3 separate regions of the Homo sapiens genome follow, and all the other regions are linked to region 1. Evidence: promoter capture Hi-C in 16 types of primary human blood cells and fetal thymus (Javierre and others, 2016). All regions are on one chromosome and are shown on one strand. The core of a region is centred on a gene start or on the middle of the fragment in contact, and the rest is flanking DNA. Distances in the headings are between cores, read along the strand shown.

What was found. The method cuts DNA at HindIII sites, captures the fragments that hold promoters and counts their contacts. A CHiCAGO score of 5 or more calls a contact.
Region 2: a contact is called between a fragment that was not itself captured here and the fragment with the promoter of EDEM1 in region 1, in 1 of 17 cell types (non-activated CD4 T cells). The highest score is 8.3, in non-activated CD4 T cells.
Region 3: a fragment that was not itself captured here is called in contact with the fragment with the promoter of EDEM1 in region 1 in 1 of 17 cell types (non-activated CD4 T cells); the score reaches 5.1 in non-activated CD4 T cells.

What each region holds. Positions count from the first base shown.
Region 1 is chr3:5,186,066-5,189,237 of GRCh38, reverse strand. It overlaps EDEM1 (ER degradation enhancing alpha-mannosidase like protein 1), which reads right to left and starts at 1,531. Exons shown (of 12, transcript NM_014674.3): 1 at 924-1,531. The coding sequence starts at 1,432. RefSeq lists enhancers at 543-592, 3,014-3,073 and silencers at 743-1,032, 1,083-1,252, 1,493-1,902. The HindIII fragment of the contact is 7,598 bases long and covers 1-2,741 here.
Region 2 is chr3:69,081,391-69,084,562 of GRCh38, reverse strand. No RefSeq gene overlaps it. Among named protein-coding and RNA genes, the nearest start is that of ARL6IP5, 2.0 kb to the left of the region's middle. RefSeq lists enhancers at 1,463-1,622, 2,427-2,486. The HindIII fragment of the contact is 2,467 bases long and covers 473-2,939 here.
Region 3 is chr3:63,982,829-63,986,000 of GRCh38, reverse strand. ATXN7 (ataxin 7) reads right to left here. Exons shown (of 13, transcript NM_001377405.1): 8 at 2,980-3,062. Among named protein-coding and RNA genes, the nearest start is that of PSMD6-AS2, 20 kb to the left of the region's middle. The HindIII fragment of the contact is 819 bases long and covers 1,077-1,895 here.

The DNA of each region.
Region 1 (3,172 bases), core at 282-2,781:
TCCTCCACTCCCATCCAGGGGAGGGGAGTCAACTATTTGGACTAACAGGGTCTATGGCAATGCACATTCCTTCCCTACAGGTAAGAGGTCCTTAGCTGGGTGTACTGCCCTCTTGGACTTTGATGTCAACAGTGGTGACCCTTGGAGCTCAGCCTTTGCAAACAAGGCTGGTGAACAGGGAAGACTGCCTGACCTTCCCGGACAACCACGCCACCAGAGGCGGGGGATTTATAGACAGATCGTACAGGGCGATGACGTTGACAGTCAATCTGGCATCCAGTGAATTTCACCTCAAGTATCTGGACCCCAAAAGTGGGCCACATAGCTTCCCTCCCCACCACCTAACTATCCTCAGCCTAAGAAGCAGCCCCTGTGAAGGAGAGGCTGTAACCCCGTTCTGCCTCAAACTCAATGGACGGCTTTGGAGAAGTCAACTATAGGCTTTTTACATAGAAAAGACGTGGGTGTGGCAATGTGATAGAGGTGGGGGTGCGAGGTAAAGGCTTGTTCTGAGGCTGCGTTTACACGGGGGGCATGATGGAGATTTCATTTAGAGTTTATGCTCATCCGGAGGAAGGGGTCGGATGGAAGTGGAAAGCCCTCCAAGCCAGCCCTTGGCACTGCCACTGTCCCTTCTGGTCCTGGACCTCAGTATCCTCACGCGTAAGACACTGAGCTGGACAGCAGTTCTGAAGTTTGGAGATTCCGGGAGAATCAGGAGAGGAAGGCCACCGGCCCACCCCGCACCCTCAAGCTCGGGGGTCTTCACAGGGACTCACACGGGACAGGGCGCGGGAGCGCTGCCCGGGACCCTAACGGCCCTGGCGCCCTCGGGGGCCCCGGAGGACAGAGGGCTGCACCCCGGCGCGGAGGGCGGAAGGAAGCGCGTGGGCGCGCGGCCCCGGGCGGCGGGGGCTACTCACGGGTCCCCGCGGTCGGGCCCACGGCCGCGGCAGTGGATGGGGTTGAGCTCGTCCTGGGGGAAGGCGTGAGCCATGTAGTTGTCGTAGCCAAAGACGAACATGCCCCGTGCCAGGTCGCGCATCTGGGCACGCAGCTGCGGAGGGAAGGCGCCGCTGTAGCGCTTCTCGTACTCGTCCGGGCCGCGGCCCCGGCCGCCCAGCACGTAGCCCCAGTTGGCTGGGCCGCACATCCCCGGCCCAGGACGCCGCGGAGCCTTGCGCGGGCTCTGCGCTGCCCCGGTCCCCGGCGGCTGCAGCCACGACGGCCCGGATACCCCCCCAGGCCGGCCCACGGGCCCCGAGGTGGGCGACGCGGGGCCGTCGGGGCTCCTCAGACGCTGGAAGCCGAAGCTGAGCGGAAAGCGCTGGTAGAAGCCCATGCTGGGCCCCAGCCCGAAGACGAGCCACAATACTCCATGGAGGCCAAGCCGGAGGAGCACCAGCCCCAGGACGAGCGCTCGCCATTGCATGGTCGCGCGGGCGCCGCGGGCATTATTTTAAAGCGCGGGGGCCTCCCCGCCGACCACCGCACCCCGCGCTCGCCCCGTAGCCCGGCTCGCTTCCCCTTTAAGGAACTCCCCCGTGACGCACCAGGAACTAGCCCATCGTCCCCAACCCCCAGGCTCTCCGGCGGGCCGGCCAGGCCCCACGGTCGCCCGCCCAGTGGCCCGGGATTGGCCCGGCCTGGGCCCGGCCTCGCGGGGCGCGGCCCAGGACTCCCTCCCACGCAGTAGGCCGCCAGGACGTCCGCGACGCCCCGAGGCCCCGCCCCTCACCCGGGCCCCGCCCCAACTCCCAAGCCCCGCCCCCCTGGGCGGTCCGTAGCCCGATGGGCTGGCGTGGCGAGCAGGAGCCGCGCCGGCCCGCGAGGGAACTTCCAGCCAATGGGAGAGCGGCACGGCAGCGCCCGCCGGACGCTGGACACAGACGTGACCCCAGACCGCCTGGCCTTGGGTGGATCGGGTCTCTGGGCAGAGCGTGTGTCCGGCAGAGCTAGGACCGGAAAAAGCCACTCTAGGTCTAGGTTAGGAGTGATGACAGTTAAAAGATATATAAGGAAAAGAAGGAAAGGATCGTTTCTGTATAAAACGAGCTATTTTTGCATATCGAGCGCATAAGTTTTATAACTTAGGTGTCTGTTTATGGAGAGGGTGGGATACTACCTTTTAGCTCAAGGAGTGCACAAAACGGTATCATGAATTCTGCTCTTTTGATTCAAACACCCAACTTTGAAGAATCGCTCATGGTGCTTGTAAAACACGTATCCCCAGATCCCTCCCTAGACCTATCGAACAACTCCAACGGTCTCGGGAATGTGCGTGTAAGTACTCTTGGACAGTTCTTAGAAACTGGAAGTTTCAGGAAATACAAAGTTATGTTATATTGCTTTTGTCTCGGAAATAGGATTTTTTTAAAAGGGGGGGGCGGGTTGGGGGTGGGAATGAAGGCTCCCACCACCACCAAATTATTTACCAGATATATCTAAACATGTCTTCTCCTGTCCCTCCCATCCTACCATCTCTCCTGTGCACCCGCAATTAGTGACCTAACCTTTGAGGTGTGGGGTAGATTCCCAGTTAAATAACTTTACCCCTCTGTATCTACTTCCTATAATTAAGAAGATTGCAAATGTTAGCTCTAAAGGGCTATGGCTTTCACATAAAGATTCAATGGTTTAGGCGCTTATTTATTTTGCTTGCTGCATTTGGAGTTGGCTGTAAGTTTTGCCCTCCCTAAGTTTAGACCCTATGCCTGTTTCATCAGGGTTTCTGAAAAGCTTGGGAAGCAAGACCTGACTAGACCCCCAAATCTGATATTGGCTGAATGGCCGACCAATGGAGTGCATAAGAAGGTAAGTTGTCATGTGGCACTCTCATCACATTTTCAGGGTAGAGGACTTTCTGAAATACAGAGGAGGTGTAAGGGGAACTAAGAAAACACTTGATTACAGCACATGGTAGCTGGCACATAGGAAGGTCCTTACTGTTGGCTGAGCCTTGTTCTTTCCCAACATTGAGACATCGAGAGCAGCCCAAGCAGCAAAAAGATTACGAAGACAGCTTGAGCCAGGGTCTTTAGACTACACAGCTTCTGCTTTTTCCCCTCTGTGAAGGATGCCTAGGGACTGTGCTGGCAGCCCAGCTCCAGCCCTTGATCCTGAACTTCTGCCTTCCTGGAACTTGCAAACTGAATGTGAATATTCAGTTGCA
Region 2 (3,172 bases), core at 457-2,956, about 64 Mb before region 1:
TACTAACCTCTACACATCTGAATGCAATTCCCATGTTTTCTCTGTTTCACCATGAGTCACTATGTGTGAAATCAGATTGGCAAAACGGGAAAGAAGGTCATGTAGAACAGAAGGGCTGGTCTGTTTTTTTCACTTCTCTTCTTTGTTCTCCACCTCTGTTCTCTCTAGGCTAAATTGTTGGACTGCTATGCCATTCTGATAAAGTAGGCACTCTGGCCACTTCAGTCCTGAGCTGGGCATGTTGCTTACATTTTAAAGCAAACAGTTGTCTGCAGTGAACTAGTTGTTCTGCATCCAGCATTTTCTGGGCAGAAATATGCATTCCACTTCAAAAGTTTTCTTAGTTTTATTGCAATATTTGGTGACAGCTTTCACTGAGGGACCACAATATATTCATAGATAACGTGATGTTTTGTATCCCAGCCCAAAGACCTGGCAAAAGAAGTATTCGTTGTCAATTCTCTTCTAAGCTTCCAAGGGTCATCTTTTTTCAGTTAAGGGGCTGATTGGTACAATGCATGAGAAAAAAAGTAGTTTGTTTAATTGTATAATGTAATAGGTAGAATTCTAAGGTGAAGATTTCTAAGATAACAGAGTCTCTAAGCCCCTAAGTGGCTTAGACAAGGTGAATTCACTCTACTCAGATCACCAATTTTTGAAAACTTGGAAAGTAATGAAATATACTAATGCAAAGTCTAGAAAACATAATTTAATTTTCCTTATTAATTCAGAAGACAGTTAAGGAGCTTACAGCGACTCTAAGAAATTACTACTACTACTGTTGTTTAGGAAAATTTGGTGATTGCATGGAATTAGTGCTAAGATATATCTTATGTGCTGCTTTTTGAATAAAGTTTAAAATGTGAAAATATTCCTGAGTGCTCATGTTTTCTTGATTCTGGAAAAATGGGATGGTGTGAAGTCAGAGAAAGCAAAATTAGAGTCGCAGCTCCTTCCTCTCTGGCAGGTGACTTTGGAGAAACTACTTAATCTCTCCCAGCCTCGGTGTCTTCATGTGTAAAGTGGGGATAATGGAACATCTGCCATATAGACGAGGCTAAGTGAAGGAATGTATAGGAAATGCTTAGTGTATAATAAAGGTTCACAGTTATATGTTACTATTATTGTTATTAGCAATAGGATAGCCCACGATTCTTGTTTGCTATTAATAGTGCTTTAATCTGATTTGTTTTCTATGCTTTCATTATAAACATCTACTAACTTTTCTCTACCTTGCTCCAACTTTATTGTTGTGGATGTATCTGGGTAGGGGGAAAAGGTTGAGAATATTCAGTACAATGCCAGCAAGTATTTCGAGTTCTTTTGAGGCTCTGTGAAAGCACTGTGGGTTTTTTTTCTTTTCTTTTCTTTTTTTTTTTAAAGAGGAGAAAAATGTAATCCTGCTCTGCCTTCAAAACTTCTGCAATCCAGTGGAAACACTAGTTAAATATGAGACAGTAAGAGGAGTGCTAAATAGAGATGCACTGAGCCTCAGTGCTCAGTTACAGGAAGTCAGAGGGTGTGGAGGAATTCCCCAGGGCTTCAGAATGTCAAGAGGCAGCACTGTGGGCAAGCTGAGTAAATCATCTTGGTCAAGATGAGAGTGGGAACTCCAGTGGGGCCCCACACTGTTGGTGAGATTTATGAGTATTAGAAGCTGTAACTAAGAACTTTATCTTCCAACTGCTCAGAACTGCATGACCAAAAGCTGTCAAGAGTGTATTAGTAACAATATGATTACTCCTTGATCACAGGCAATTGATACCCAAGAAAGAATTAAACCTCTTTAGAGGTTTAAACATAAATAAATAAATTCTGAAAAGACAGAGAAAGCTGTTTATAGCATGATTCCCTTCTGTCTCCCTCCCAAAATGTTAACCCTGTCTCTCTCTTTGGGGTATGGGAGATTTTTTTTTTCTCTAAATATTTCTACCTTTGTTAAATTATTTTAAATAAAAATGAACATGTAATGAGTCATTACTTTTTTCCAGTAACTGTTTGAAATGCTATTAGTAGCAGCTCTTTGTTAGTGTTCATTCCGGGGAGGGAGGGGTCAGATTCACTGTAGAGGTCTTTCTGGAGCTTTAATTTATTATTATTTTTAGAGACAGGGTCTCACTATGTTGCCCAGGCTGGTTTTAAACTCCTGGGCTCAAACAGTCCTCCCACCTCAGCCTCCCAAGTAGCCGGGACTACAGGTGTGGGAAGCCGAGCCCTGCTTGATGGGGCTTTTATAATGGGACTGGTGTGTCTAGATAGGACCATTCAGACTATCTGTCTGTTTAAAAACCATAGCAGATAGTCTAATTGTTTATGATATGTTCCATTTGAAGTAAAATAAATCTGTTGAAGGTTTTGCTTGCATGTCTCTGTTGCTTTCATTCCTGGCAAGGGCAGATGGCTATTTCTAATCCGTCAATCAATCTAAGCCAGTGAGAGTGCCTGGTGTCGTTTATCAAAATACCACCATGGTGAGTCAGGCTGTTAGTCTCAAAGCAAGCAGATGCAGGGCCAGATACCTTTGCAGACTTCTTCATCGGCTAGCTGTACTCTATCCCTAGGCCTCAGTTTCCTCCCCTGTGAAATGGGTGAGACTGGACTAGGTGGCCTTTAAGGTGACTGCTGCTTTTCACTATCTGAGAGGGTTGCAATGCTCACTACCACTAATCAAAGGGTATCCAGTATTGTTGGGGGTTCAGGCTACAGGAGCCCATTTTGATAAGCACTGAGGTTAAATCCTCAGTGAAACCATCTGTGGAGTTGTCTGGGCAAGAAAAAGTAGTTTCATAGTTGACGCTGAGACATGTGATGCAGAAGGAGGCTGGTATCTCTTGATAGGGACTGTGAACTCTATTCCCACGCTCACTGCCTGGCATTGACTTTCAGCTCAGTGAATGCTATTGAACTGAACCTAATTGGGGGACCATAAAGGACAAGCTTTCCTTAAGGTTCACTGAAAACTAGGACAAGAGGAGGTTAAATATCACAGTGTAGTAACAGCAGCTACATTTACTGAGTACCCATCAGGCTTTATGTACTCCATTTCAGTGGCCCTCAAACTTTACCAGTGGAGAATCACCCCAGGCTTTGCAGAAGGCTGAAGGGTGGGGTGGCGGGGGGGCGGTGGGGAGCGTGGTGGGGGCGGTGAGGGGTGAAAATTTGTGTTAAAAAA
Region 3 (3,172 bases), core at 237-2,736, about 59 Mb before region 1:
CATAATGTAGTCCTCTCATCTTTTTATAACTCATCAGTGGTAATTTTACAGTTATTTTGGTGATTAATACTCTCCATCTCTTTCATTAGACTGTAAGCACCACAAGCATAGGGAACACGTGGTTATTGTGCTAAACCCTTTATTCCCTGCGACCTAGAAAGAGTGAGGCCTGTGCTCACAGATGTACGTAATAAAAAGTTCTACAATGAGTGAATGGACAAAGGCTACAGGAGTCACAAATCTCTCCGCGTGGAAGGCACAGAGGACTTTCGACGGGATATTAGACAGATGAAGAAGTGAGGAGGGGCAGTGAGGATGGGAGACAGACAACAGAGAATGAGTAATGGGAATGAACAGCAGCAAATCCCCTGACGGTGAAGAGAACAGATAACGTTCTAAGTCTAAGACAGAAGAGACCTGGCAGCAACTTGGGAAACACTCAGGGTAGGGACATGCAGGCATGTTTAGCCCTACCAAGCTTAATAGATTCAGACCAACGTGAAGGCAAGGAAAAGGAAAAGAACTGACAAAACAATGAAAAAAAGTCAAGTCATCCTGTAAAAGGGCAGGCCTGGTGGATGCTGCATTTTCTGCCAGTTCTATGCTGATCTCATGACAAGCTGGGTCTCAAGACTTATTAATGCAATGACAGGCTTAGCCCAATGCCACGGAGAGTAATGACACCCTTAAAGAAGGACGACAAGGGGAGCATATATCATTTGAAAAGGAAGATGTGAGAAAAATGCAGACCCATTCAAAGTCACTCCACCTAGCAATAAAGGCACAGGAAGAATGCCAGTCAAGCTCCTTGAAGATTTTGAGTTGAAAAAAAACTTTTGGCAACCTCACTTCTGGGTAGTTATCCAAAATAACTGAAATCAGAATCTCAAAGAGCTATTAGAACTCCTATGTTCACTGAAGTATTATTTATAATAGACAAGATGTAGAAACAATATAAATGTCTGTCAACAGGTGACTGGATGAAGACAACATAGTATATACATACACTGGAATACTATTCAGCCCTTAAAAAGAAGGAAATTCTGCAATATGCTACAACAAGTATGAGGTAAGCTTGAAGACATTATACTAAGATAAATAACCCAGTCACATAATGACTAAACACCGCATGATTCCACTTATATGAGATCTATAATCAAACTCACAGAATCAACAACTAGAGTGGTGGCTGCCAGCGGCTGAAGGGAGAGCGAAATAAGGAGTTACTAATCAATGAGCATAAAGTTTCAGTTATAGCAAGATGAACAAGTTCTAGACATCTGCTGTATAATATTCTTTCACAGTCAACAATACTGTCTTGCACACTTAAAGGTGTGGTTCCCTGCCACGCTTTGTAAATGACTGAAAAAGAACATCTTGGGTTTGAAAAAAGCAAACCTCATTGCCCACAGGTACTGTATTACTGAGAAATCCATGTTACTGAGAGTCAGGTAGGCAGGAAGAGCGCAGAAGGAGAATGGCAAGTTGTGATCATGATGTGGACAGGGCTGAGGCATGCTTTCACACATTCTCTTAGGGACAGCTGAAACTGACATAATTCTACAGAACTCAGGTGGCTATCTTCATACACCACCACCACTACACCACTGTGTGTCCAATTAGTACCCTATACAAAAAAAAAGCAGTTTGTTTTATGAGAGTTTTTAACCTAGAAATCCAAGGATGGGCTTGGGGTGGGGGTGTCCATTAATCCAAGATAGAAAAATTCAGAATGTGTATGTGTATGCACTATTTTATTCTCGGAAGATGGACCGTGGTTTTTTTTTTTTAAAAATGAGATATTTAAAGGTACTCTTGACCAACCCTTTTCCCCAAAAAGGTTCTGAACCACTGTTGTAAGACAAAATCTATATACTAAAATTAAATTAGAAGCTTAAAGTAAGAACCACTTAAAAATTTCCCACTCCAGAAGACTGTAACATGCCTCCACTGGCTGGGGCATGGGACAGGGCCTGAAGTCCTTTATTCAAATACACTTTAATAAAATTTAAAGTAAAACACTAACAATTTTATTAATTTTTAGAAGAAAATGCTAACTTTTATCATTTTTACTTCCTCCCTCTAAGGTTTTAAAATTACATACTTCAAAGCAGTGACTCTGAATGCTTCTTGAACCTATCTGGGGGGTAGCTGGGGACACCCTCCAGAGAAATGCACATCAACATACAAGCTCATTTATGTAGAGGTGTTCACTGATGACCTGAAGCCACCCCACATCAATAACCCACACTTTTCAGCAAATATACCTTATTAGCATACTGGCATTTTAAAAGAAGGAAGACCCCAGAGCAAAAAGGAAGACCATTACATTTTCTTAGCTTGTATATAAATTATTAATATATTTTATCTAGTTTTTTTTTTCTCTTAAAAGAGATGGGTCTCGTAATGTTCTCCAGGCTGGACTCAAACTCCTAGGCTCAAGCAATCCTTCTGCCTCAGCCTCCCCACTAGCTGGGACTTACAGGCATGCCTGGCTTGCAGTATTTTTTTTTTAAACTAGAAAACAGGGATATTTCAAAATCACAGATTTTTTAAAAAGTGGTTCTTTAAAATTTAAGACCATGGGTGACACATTTTTTAAATGTTCATACACACGCAAGGGAAATTTCTGCACTTGCTTTAAGCCAGTATAATTTAAAGCACAGTCAAGGGTAGCCTATATGGAAATATTAAAAGTTTTTAAAAATAACAGACTGGGAGAGAACACTATTCCTGTGGATACAACACTGCTCATTAGAAACAAAACCTCTGTCAAGATTATAATTTATAACAACGCACTTCACATTTTGTCAATCTGAGGCTTTCTTCAACAGAACCAAGTTATTCCTTCACCTACACAATTCACAACAATCCACAGAGCATCTTCTCTGGGTTAGAGAGACTGTGGGAGTAGTGTGGTACATCCCAGTCACCCATGTTTATCAGGATGGTCGACTTGACTTTCAGGAGTCCACCTACCTTGCATGTCAAAGACCGGGTGCAGGGCTTCTTGGTGTCGAGATCAATAACCCCACAGTGGATGTCAGGATCAAACTCTCTTTCTGTCAAAAGAACACAGGCATTACATGTGGCCTGACAAACTCTCCTCCATGTATTTTTTAAGCAAGAAAATAGAAGAAATCAACAGTTAGATAAATTATAGCTGGAATAA